Linked DNA regions of Homo sapiens: regions 2 and 3 are each linked to region 1. Evidence: promoter capture Hi-C in 16 types of primary human blood cells and fetal thymus (Javierre and others, 2016). All regions are on one chromosome and are shown on one strand. The core of a region is centred on a gene start or on the middle of the fragment in contact, and the rest is flanking DNA. Distances in the headings are between cores, read along the strand shown. Region 1 holds the start of JAZF1-AS1 (JAZF1 antisense RNA 1). Region 2 has its middle 69 kb from the start of LINC03007. Region 3 holds the start of LOC105375200 (a long non-coding RNA gene).

Evidence for each region. The method cuts DNA at HindIII sites, captures the fragments that hold promoters and counts their contacts. A CHiCAGO score of 5 or more calls a contact.
Region 2: a fragment that was not itself captured here is called in contact with the fragment with the promoter of JAZF1-AS1 in region 1 in 2 of 17 cell types (activated CD4 T cells and fetal thymus); the score reaches 7.7 in activated CD4 T cells.
Region 3: a fragment that was not itself captured here is called in contact with the fragment with the promoter of JAZF1-AS1 in region 1 in 1 of 17 cell types (activated CD4 T cells); the score reaches 5.4 in activated CD4 T cells.

What each region holds. Positions count from the first base shown.
Region 1 is chr7:28,178,914-28,182,112 of GRCh38, forward strand. It overlaps JAZF1-AS1 (JAZF1 antisense RNA 1), which reads left to right and starts at 1,544. Exons shown (of 4, transcript NR_034097.1): 1 at 1,544-1,626. It overlaps JAZF1 (JAZF zinc finger 1), which reads right to left and starts at 1,882. Exons shown (of 5, transcript NM_175061.4): 1 at 1,550-1,882. The coding sequence starts at 1,664. RefSeq lists enhancers at 101-602, 603-1,102 and a silencer at 957-1,076. The HindIII fragment of the contact is 6,606 bases long and covers 1-2,343 here.
Region 2 is chr7:25,857,802-25,861,000 of GRCh38, forward strand. No RefSeq gene overlaps it. Among named protein-coding and RNA genes, the nearest start is that of LINC03007, 69 kb to the left of the region's middle. The HindIII fragment of the contact is 9,868 bases long and covers 1-3,199 here.
Region 3 is chr7:25,938,802-25,942,000 of GRCh38, forward strand. It overlaps LOC105375199 (a long non-coding RNA gene), which reads right to left. Exons shown (of 7, transcript XR_927114.3): 7 at 461-660. LOC105375200 (a long non-coding RNA gene) reads left to right here and starts at 2,731. Exons shown (of 4, transcript XR_001745151.2): 1 at 2,731-2,770. The HindIII fragment of the contact is 856 bases long and covers 1,136-1,991 here.

The DNA.
Region 1 (3,199 bases), core at 294-2,793:
TGATTATCTCCTATTCCGGATGGCCCATCAAATCACATTCTAAACAGGCATTCAACACTTATTAAGCAGCCACTGTGTGCAGAGACAGCACTATACTAAGCAAAGGAGCATAGGGTTCTGCCTCATTTTATTCCTGCATAAATACACAGCAGTCGTGATTTATTCTCTCAACTTTGTAGAAACGTGAGCTGCATCCACATGGCTGAATCCATGGCATTCATTTGGACTTCCTGGGGGCAATTTACAGGTTCTCTGGATTAGACAGCCCCATTGGGACATCGCTCGGACCCTTCACCTTCTAGCCCACGCAGGACAACTCGCTGGCGTCGGTCACACCTTCCGCAGGTGGTTGGACCGCCTAAGCCAGATGCACCCGGCCCACCTCCCTTAGCAGGGGTTCCGAATAGAAGTGTGAAAATGTGTGCAATGACTTCTGCAAATCAGAGGACTTGTTGAAAGGTCCAGGGGTCCAGGCGTGAAGGGAAAGCAGCCACCCTGCGGGGCGCCCCCTCCCCGGCGTCTCCCGGGCCCGGGGCGCTGCGCAGGCCGCCGCCGATCCCAGGGCGCAGCCAGCGCACCTCGGGCCTAGCACCATTAGAAAGGCAAATCGCAGAGCCGGGGTGCATTTAAATGCCCGGCCATGGGCCCTGGGGGTGTCTCTCCAGCGGGCGCCGCCGCAGGGGCCTCCAGGGCGCGTCGACCCCGGGGCGCTGGGCGCGGCCCGCGGGCGCACCCAAGACCTCAGCCCGCAGCGCCCGGGCGTCCGCGCCAGGCCGGGGCAGGGGAGGGCACCCAGAGCCCCCGGGCCCGCGTCCCCGGCCCCGCCCGGGCCCCTCGGCCGCCTCCCAGGGAGAGGGCAAGCTCCCCGGCCCCCGCCCGCGGCCGCCGGCCCCGGCCCCCTCCCGACGCACCACACCTAGCAACCGGCGCTGACAGGACGCAGTGGCGGCGGCGGCGGCGGGAGGAGGAAGCGGAATGGCTGCCGCGGTGGAGCCACCCCCGCCCCCCCGCTCCACCTCCCCGCGGCTGCAGCCGCCGCCGAGCCCTGACAGCTCGAGCCGGGGCGGAAGCGCCCGGCGGCGTGCAGCGCCCGCCCCCCGCTGCCCTCAGCGCCTCGGGCTACTCCGACCACCCGGGCCAACTAACTCCGCGACCCTGCCCAGCGCCCAGCTCCCGCCGCCCGCCGCGCCCTCCGCCCCGCGCCCCGCGCGCCGGCACTCGGCCCCGCCGCCGCAACCCCGCCGCCCCGCCGCGGCGCTCCCCGCTCCCACCACTTCGCAGCCCGCGTGCACGCCCCTGAGTCCCCCAGCCGCCCGCCCGCCCGCCCGCGGCACCTCGGGGCGCCCGCCCCCTCCCCCACCCGAGCCCGCTCCCCGCCCCCCGGCACCTCGCGCCCCCGCATCCCGCCACCCCCACCTCGGGGCTCGCACGCGCCCTCCCCGCCCTGCCGCCTCCCTCCCCGCCGGCCACCCCTGGCCATTCCGGGGCTCCCCGCCCGGGCAGGAGTTTCCGCGCGCCTGGCACCCCCGCCCACCCCCGGGCCATTTACCGATGTGGTTGTCCTCGATGTGCTCGATGAGGTCGGCCAGGGTGGGGAAGTGGAGTCCGCAGCCCCCGAATCGGCAGGTATTGGAGAAGAAGGAGGCGGCGGCGATGCCTGTCATGGTGCTACATCGAGAGCCCCCCTGGTGTCGGCTCTGCGAGCGCCGGGCGGGCGAGGGAGGGAGGGAGGCCGGGTGGGGTGAGGAGAGGAGGGGCTGGGGGAGGGGGAGAGAGGCGGGGTGAGGGGAGCGGCGAGGACGGGACGGAGGGAGAGGGGGCGAGAGAGATGGAAGGAGAGCGAGGAGCCACCGGGAGGCAGAGGGGAGGCGGCGGCTGCGGCGGCGGCGTCGGGAGCGGCGGGGGGAGGGCGGGGGCGGGGGCGGGGGGGGAAGGCCGCCGCAGCTGGGAGGAGGGACCAGGGCGCGCGGCTACAGCTGTGCGGCCCCAACCTCAGCGCGCGGACCCAGGCCTCACCTGCGAGCCCTGCCACCAACTTTATCTCGCTAGGCCTGCCCTTTACGGCTTGCCATCCGTGCCATCTGTTTGGAGCCTCCTTGGTTATGTATATGACGTTCTTAATACACCCACATCGATTAATTACACCTACCTCCCTGCGAGGAGAACTCAGGGAGTTACCCTGGTCCCTCTCAGGGACATTTTTTTGTACTCAGCCACCTGTCTAGGTGTGACACATTCACAGGGGACCCAGGAAAGGTAATTGTGTGCACCTTCTTCTTTAAACCTTCTTTAGAAAAAGTACACATTCTCCGGAGGTTTGTACTAACTAATTGATTTTAATGAAGCTTTCCCTCTAGGCCAGAAAAAAATCTTAGCTTTATTTAAATTTCAAAATAGAGTGCTTGGTTGTCAAGTGCATTTGCCTGTGTTTTACATATGTGCCACGTTTTTTATACTCCCTGCTCCTTCTAGGAAAACAAAAACTAAAATAATTTCATCACCCGAAATTACAGCACCCTACTGCACCCACTCCACCATCTCAGGTCTGGTAATTAACCCATCCTCGTTTCAGCCACTGCAGAAAGGACAGTGCATTGGTTAAGGCTAGAAGGAGCGGAAACAACGGCAAGGGACATAGTGACTCTTCATTTAAAAAGGAAGCGATTTCATCCTGTGAGCATTTAAAGCATAATGTTGACCAGGTAACCACTTAAGGTGAATTTAGTAGCTTCCCTGAAAACCAGCATTTTGCTGAGAATCAATTACTTTCTTGTCCCCACCCCCTCCTCCAGTTGCAGTCATATTTCTTCTGTAAAGTGTGTATTTTCCAGTAGCACTTTTCCAGGTGTCTAAGAAATATTACACATTATCAGCAGTTTATGACCCAACAGTACATTTTTTTTATTAATATTAATATATGCATACTGAATTTAGCATTTTTCCTTAGGGCAAATTTCACTTACCCTCTGGTGCAGATGCATGGAGAAATAGTATTCCTCCCTCCATAAACTCTATGCATCTCTGTCTAGTGTTATTTCTAATAATGGGATTGTTTGCTTTTCATGTAAGTGCTTAGAGTAAAGGCACATGTAATATGTCTGTTGCTACAGGAAGTTTTATGATCTGACCATCACCGGTGGCATTTTCTCTTCTCATCTCTTCTGTCTTGCAGCTCACAAGGTGACAAACTTGCTGAGAT
Region 2 (3,199 bases), core at 461-2,960, 2.3 Mb before region 1:
CCCCCAAACAATCCTGGTTTCTGTTTTCCTCTCTCCCTAGGCACACCCCCAAGGAAATTGCCTTTTCAGCAGGCGCCTGCGGGAAAGAACCGCAGGAGACAGATTCCCTTTAGAGATCTGCATGGGGAGGAGGGAGATATGGAAATAAAGAGGGCCAAGGTAAGAGGACGGAGAGGCCATAGAGGACTTGCATGTTTGGGTGTGAGTTTTCTGGCCAACTAGGGGGAAAATCCACAAACCTGAGGTATCTGGTGGATGCGCTGAAAAATTAGCTCTCACCTGCAGAGTTACTCAACCCTCGTGCGCTTCTGCTCTGCCGGGAAGGGCCAGTCTCCGAGGGCGGAATAAGTATGGGTATTGAAAGGCAAGTAGGAAACAGCAAAAGAAAAGAACAGATACAAATTTTCTACTCCCGACCTCCAAACCAAAATCGCACTTTCAAACGTAAAACGCAATTCCAAGAAGACTGGGATGTAGGGAGTATGCGATGCCTCTGTTCAATAGGTCACTGTCAGGAACTTCAGTTTCTGGTGTTCAGATATTTGTATTTGAAATTAAGAAAATCAACGCAGGAGGGGTTGCTGGAGGATAAAGTGGGGTGACGAGAGACCGAAGGAGGGGGAGGAGGAGAGGGGTAGAAGGAACCAAGAACCATCTGATGGCAGAACTGGGCTGAAGGAAAACAAAACCGTGAACTTCAAAGCTCAGGCCTAATCTCCCTCAGGTTAATTTCTGCTTCCTAAAAAGTTTGATCAGGGTCATAAATCACTCGGTCCACCCTTGCCGGTCCTGCCTGGTTCCCCAAGGTTCTCTCCCCGCAGCCCGCTGCAGGGGCGCAGGGTGAGTCTCCAGCCCAAGACCGTCTGAGGCTTCCCGGGGCAGGAGGGCTCCCGGGGCTGAGTGGGCGCACGGATGCGCGAGAATCCGCGTGCGGGGGAAGCGGGGAGGCGAGGGTCTAGGGAAGGTGCTGGCAGTGTTGCGGGCCAGACTGTGGAGAGATCCCGTGCAGATGCAGTTTCCATTCCGTCCGGCCTCAAAAAAAAAAAAAAAACCTTCAAGTGTGTCTGGCGTGCTGTTTGAAGAAGGTTACAGCGTGTTTAGAGATTTGCAAAGCTCTGCCGAGCAGTAAAGATTAGAAAGGCCTGCCTGAGATTTGTCAAATGACTTCCGGTAGCAGAGCCCCCAGTAAACAGGGAGGGCCCGGCAGCCTCAGATCTTGGCTCGGTCGGGGCCTGTAACTCCAGGCTGCACGGCGCGGAATTGGTACGGCCGCACCAGGCGCGCTGCGAGGAGGATGGGCCTGGCCGGGGACCCGTGGAGGATCCGCCTCCAGTCCCGAGGAGGTCCCCGTTTTGTGGCTGTAGTGATGTGGCGTAAAAGTCAAGTCGTGGACTTTTCTATTGGCCTTTCCGTGCAGGAAGCCCTAGATGTAGACCAAGCACTAATTTGGTGAATTTGTAGACCAACTTGACTGAAAGGCTCGGGGAAATGTCACCTAGATGAGTCTGACCCTCCCTAAATGAAAGCCATCTTGGAGGAGGCCAGGGAGTGAAATGGCTGGGGAAGGCCCGGCAGGTCTTCATCATAAGAGTCCACGTTTCTCAGCAGTAACGATAATATTTTAAAACAAAGCAAAACAACATTGTCAAAAAATCTAGGAGACAGTGATCACTGCGGTCAGGGGCGCTTAGTGGGCCGCAGCTCATAGGAATGCTGGGGTTTCCCAGATTCTTCCCAGACGGGCATCGCTTTCCTCTAGGAATGACAGTTTCCGCCTTGGCTCGCCTCAGAGGTGCGCATCAGAGCCAGCTCAGGAAGCCACTACCTGTCACAAAACCGACCACACCATTCTGGTTTACACGGAGCATATAGCTTGGGGTTACCCAGCTAAAATAAATAACTGAAGGGAAATTGTTGGTCAAGAAAAACAAAAGGAAAAATATATAATAAAAGGGGTATCTATTGTTGGACGTGAGACGGGTCCCTCTACACACGGGAAGACGAGGCAGAGGAGATGTTGTTAATGCCCCTGGGTATTAGATACAAAGAAGCACAAAAAAAGAAAAAGAGAAAGGAAAAGAAAAAGGAAGGAAGGAAGGAAAGAAGGAAGGAAGGGAGGAAGGAAGGGAGGAAGGAAGGTAGGTCAAGCCTTCTAGAATTTGTTACCCTAGATGAATAATTACTTAGACTCACACACGCAGATGTTTTTTCTGTGAGAAAGAGATTAATATGGTCTGTCCGTAATGTGACATACACACACAGGGGTTGTATTTCCATGTTTTAAAACACAAAACAACTAAAGTTGATCAGTGAGGGACATGTTTTTAACGGTTTAAATGTTTTATGATGGACCAGTAAAAGCAGAGTTAAATTTCAAGACATAATTGACTGGAGATTTGATTATTTCCCCCCATTTCTGAGGGGGAAATAATCCCTTTCCCAAAATAAAGTTATACCATTGATAAAAATAGCGCAGAGGACCGTGAGAGTTAAATAAAGCAGAAAAAAAAAAGACTATGTGTTGCATTGAGGCAAAAATAACGAAATTCAAAGGCAAATTAAAATAAAGCAATGAGGATTTATCTGAGGAACCGCCACGGGCAGAGGAGCAACATCTGTCCCAGATGTCAGACTTCCCTGCAACTTGATCCATGCGTTTCCACTTTGGTTTCTGAACCGAAGGAGGAGTGCCGGCAAGGGAGCGCCCGCAGTCCTGCGGTACAGGGCTGGCGCAGCCTCTGAGTGCGTGTGTGAACTCTGCCAGGAAGCTGTGAGAGCCAGCCCAGGATTCAGTGACCCTGTTTCCCAACCCACAAGGACAAGTACATGGTTTTCTCTCTTATCAATTCCAGCCCCGCGCAACCAAGTGAAAGCAAATGCACTGGACCGCTTCGGAATTAAAATGAATTGCTAAAACCACGGACCGCTCTGTCCGGGGCCCAGACCTGTCTCAACTCGTGGTATTTACATTCCTAGAGCCCGTGCGGAGGAACACGTCGAGGCACGGGTGGCCGCAGCACCCGGCCTCCAGGCCTAGAGTGAAAAATTTTTTAAGATCTGGTTCTCTCCCCGCCGCCTCTGTGGAGGGACTTGGGGGCATTCATCAGTCTGCAATGTTTATTCATTGTTGTAGTACCGAGCTTTCCAAACGAATAGGAAACTTTTACATCCCTTCCTTACACAGATATTTATTATCTGT
Region 3 (3,199 bases), core at 314-2,813, 2.2 Mb before region 1:
TTTTCGGAAATGTATTTCTTCATCAGGTTAATGGGAAAATTTTAGGGCCTTAATTGAAAGAAGCAGCATGGATAATATCTTTTTTGCTTCTTGCCCATCTCTTCCTGATAAAATGGAAGCCCCATGAGGACAGAAATGTTTTACTGTTATGTTCACTGCAGTAACTCATCATCCAGAACTGTGCCTGGTATATATTAGGTATTTAATAAATATGTATTATGAAATGAAATTGTCCCTTTGCTATCATAAAGGTTTCTACACCCAGGCAATATACTTTAGTAAGATTTGGGATGGGGGAGGGTGGTGCCTTTCCTTTGTAGAGTAGCAAAAGGATGATAGAAAGGAAGAGATGTAGGAGAGGGTAAATAACTCCCAGCCCAGAGGTTCTTATGCAAGTCTGTTTTAGGAACTCGACGATAGGAAAGTTGAGGACACATAACCCAACACTTCGATGCCCAAGTGCCCCTTACAAAGTCTTTATATACCCCCCTGGGTGGGTGTGCCCCAGTCTGAAGACCTCTGGACTTTATAACAGTAATCAAAGGTGCCATGCTATTGTTTTTAAAAAGAGAAGGTGTGTCAGCATCAGGAAGAATCAGGAGAACAGCTTCTTTCTATTGTAATCATTCCAAGCTGGAAGCTTCCCAAACCAGGATCAACCTAAAAAGAAATGATGGAAGATAAATGTAGGCTTTAATTCAATCCCACAAGAGAAAAACTTGGAAAGCAGGTATATGGAAGGACATAGTTATCTCAACTTCACATTAAACATTAGAGGAGCCAACATTAGTGAAATGAAATTGAAATTATGTTAACTCTCATAGTCAAGATACACACAGGCACACACACACAGATTAGAACCCACAAACTCATTCACTCATTCAGTGATTTACGGAATGGCCACCATATGCCATGCACAGTGCTGGGTGTTGGGCTATAGCAACAAATTATGCACAAATGGACCTGCCCTCATGGAGACTAGAATTGAAGCCAATGTGACCAATGTTCTAGGCATTGTACGACAATTTAGTTTCAACAAATTCTGTTTCAGAAACAGAAAAACAAACCTAATGATTTAGCTTGGGGAGGAAGAAAAGATATGAGCGAATCAAGGAAGAAAAGATATGAGAGAATAAGCTTCCTATTCTTTCCTGTTTTTCCTGGTGAAGTACAGTTTTTCAAGGTAAATTATCCATAATCCATTATAAAATGTCTAAAATCGTTTGAAATCCACTACTTCAAAGCTAAAAAGAAAAACTGAATTCAATTTTCCGTTTTCACGGGGTACAGATAAATCCTGATCCATCAACTGTTAACATCAAATGACTTAACAGCCCAGGCTGGTCTTGCTTAATCACTTAACCATCCTCTTCCTTTTGTCTAATCCCCAGATACATCTCAACACCCTAACAAACCAGTTCTCTGACGGCCTTTCAAAAGCTGCATTGGTTGCCTTTCCTCTTCTCTAACACACACACTCTCTCACAGCTTAGGAAGACTGAAAAATCTGAAGGCGTATTTTCTATAGCACTTCAGCTCATGGTAATAACTTCAATATAAATGTTGACTCATAGGAAAACAGTAGCCAACTGAAAGTGCAGCTTAAGAAATGAAGCACACAGCAAGACCTAATCCGCAGATACCAGTTCTGTCTCTATGCTGCAGCAGGGGGTCAGCCTCATTCATCACTGAGGAGACGGAGCATATCTTTTTGACAGCATGCAGCAGAGTTGGGAAAACAATTCTAATGGAGCCCTAATTAAGGGTGCCATTTCTACCAATGAAGATGAACCCAGGTCCAGCCCAAGACGTATCTGAAGGACACAAATCCCCTCCCAAATGTATTAAGTGAAAACAGCACCTCCATCCTCTTCTCATGAGCCTCTTTAATAATGTCTCCAGTTATCCACGCACCTCCCACCTCCAGGCAAGGCGTATGTGCAACTGAACCTTCAAGTAGAGACATAAGATGATTTTTAACTTTGATTAGAAGCTTTTCAAGATAATCTCTTCCTGTTTTGTCCTCTGGCAAGAGCTCCCCTTCCTTCATTTGGTCACAGAGTGGTTTTCTTTTAAAAGAACTATTCAGCTTTTGGAAAACCGACAAGAAGAAACTGAGAGAATTCACACACCACAGAAAACTGGGTACACAGCTGCTACTAAACTTCATTGTCCTTTTATCTCCAGCCTCTCCACCAACAGAAAGACACAGAAGGAAAGAGAAAGAGAGACAGAGAATGAATCTGAAGTCTGAAACCTTGTAGTTCGTTTGAACCAGTCAGTTCTTGTTCAGAAAGGAAGAGGAAGGGCAGGAGTGGCTATTGGCGCCAGAGGGAGGGTTAGTGACTCAGTCCTACCCTCCTAACAGATTAAACACCAAGGAACACAAGCCTTGGAACCAGACCTGGCTCTGACCCTCTGCCCCGCCCCTTGTAGTGTGACAGGGAAGCTCCAGTTCCCTTATCATACCTCAATTTTATCCATAAAGTGGCGACATGAGGAAAATGCCCAGCATTTAGTAAGTGCTCAATCAATATTGGTGGAAAGGTTCCTAATAACAATTATAATAGTACTAGGTAACTTTAATGATGATTTACCAGGTGTGAGGCACTAACAATTTTTTTTTTTTTTTTTTTTTTTTTTTGAGACAGAGTTTCACTCTTATTGCCCAGGCTGGAGTGCAATGGCACAATCTCGGCTCACCACAACCTCCGTCTCCCGGGTTCAAGTGATTCTCCTGCTCCAGGCTCTCAAGTAGCTGAGATTACAGGTGCGTCACCACACCCAGCTAATTTCGTATTTTTAGTAGAGATGGGGTTTCTCCATGTTGGTCAGGCTGATCTCGAACACCCGACCTCAAGTGATCTGCCGGCCTTGGACTCCCAAAATGCTGGGATTACAGGCGTCAGCCACCGCGCCTGGCCAGCACTAACAATTTTAATCTGTTCAACAATTCTGTGAGCTGCATACTATCATTATTCTTGTTTTAATGAGTAGAAAGCTAAGAAACAAAGGTTAAATATCTTGCCTAAAGCCACCTCGCTACCAAGAGACTAAGCCTATGCTTGGCCTCGAGCAGCCAGGCTTAGAGCAGGACAGTCCAATGGACCTTTCTGCAATGATGGAAAATGTTCTATAATCTGTGATTTCTGGCACAGCAGCCACTAGCCCTATGCAGCTGTTGAACACTTTAATGTGG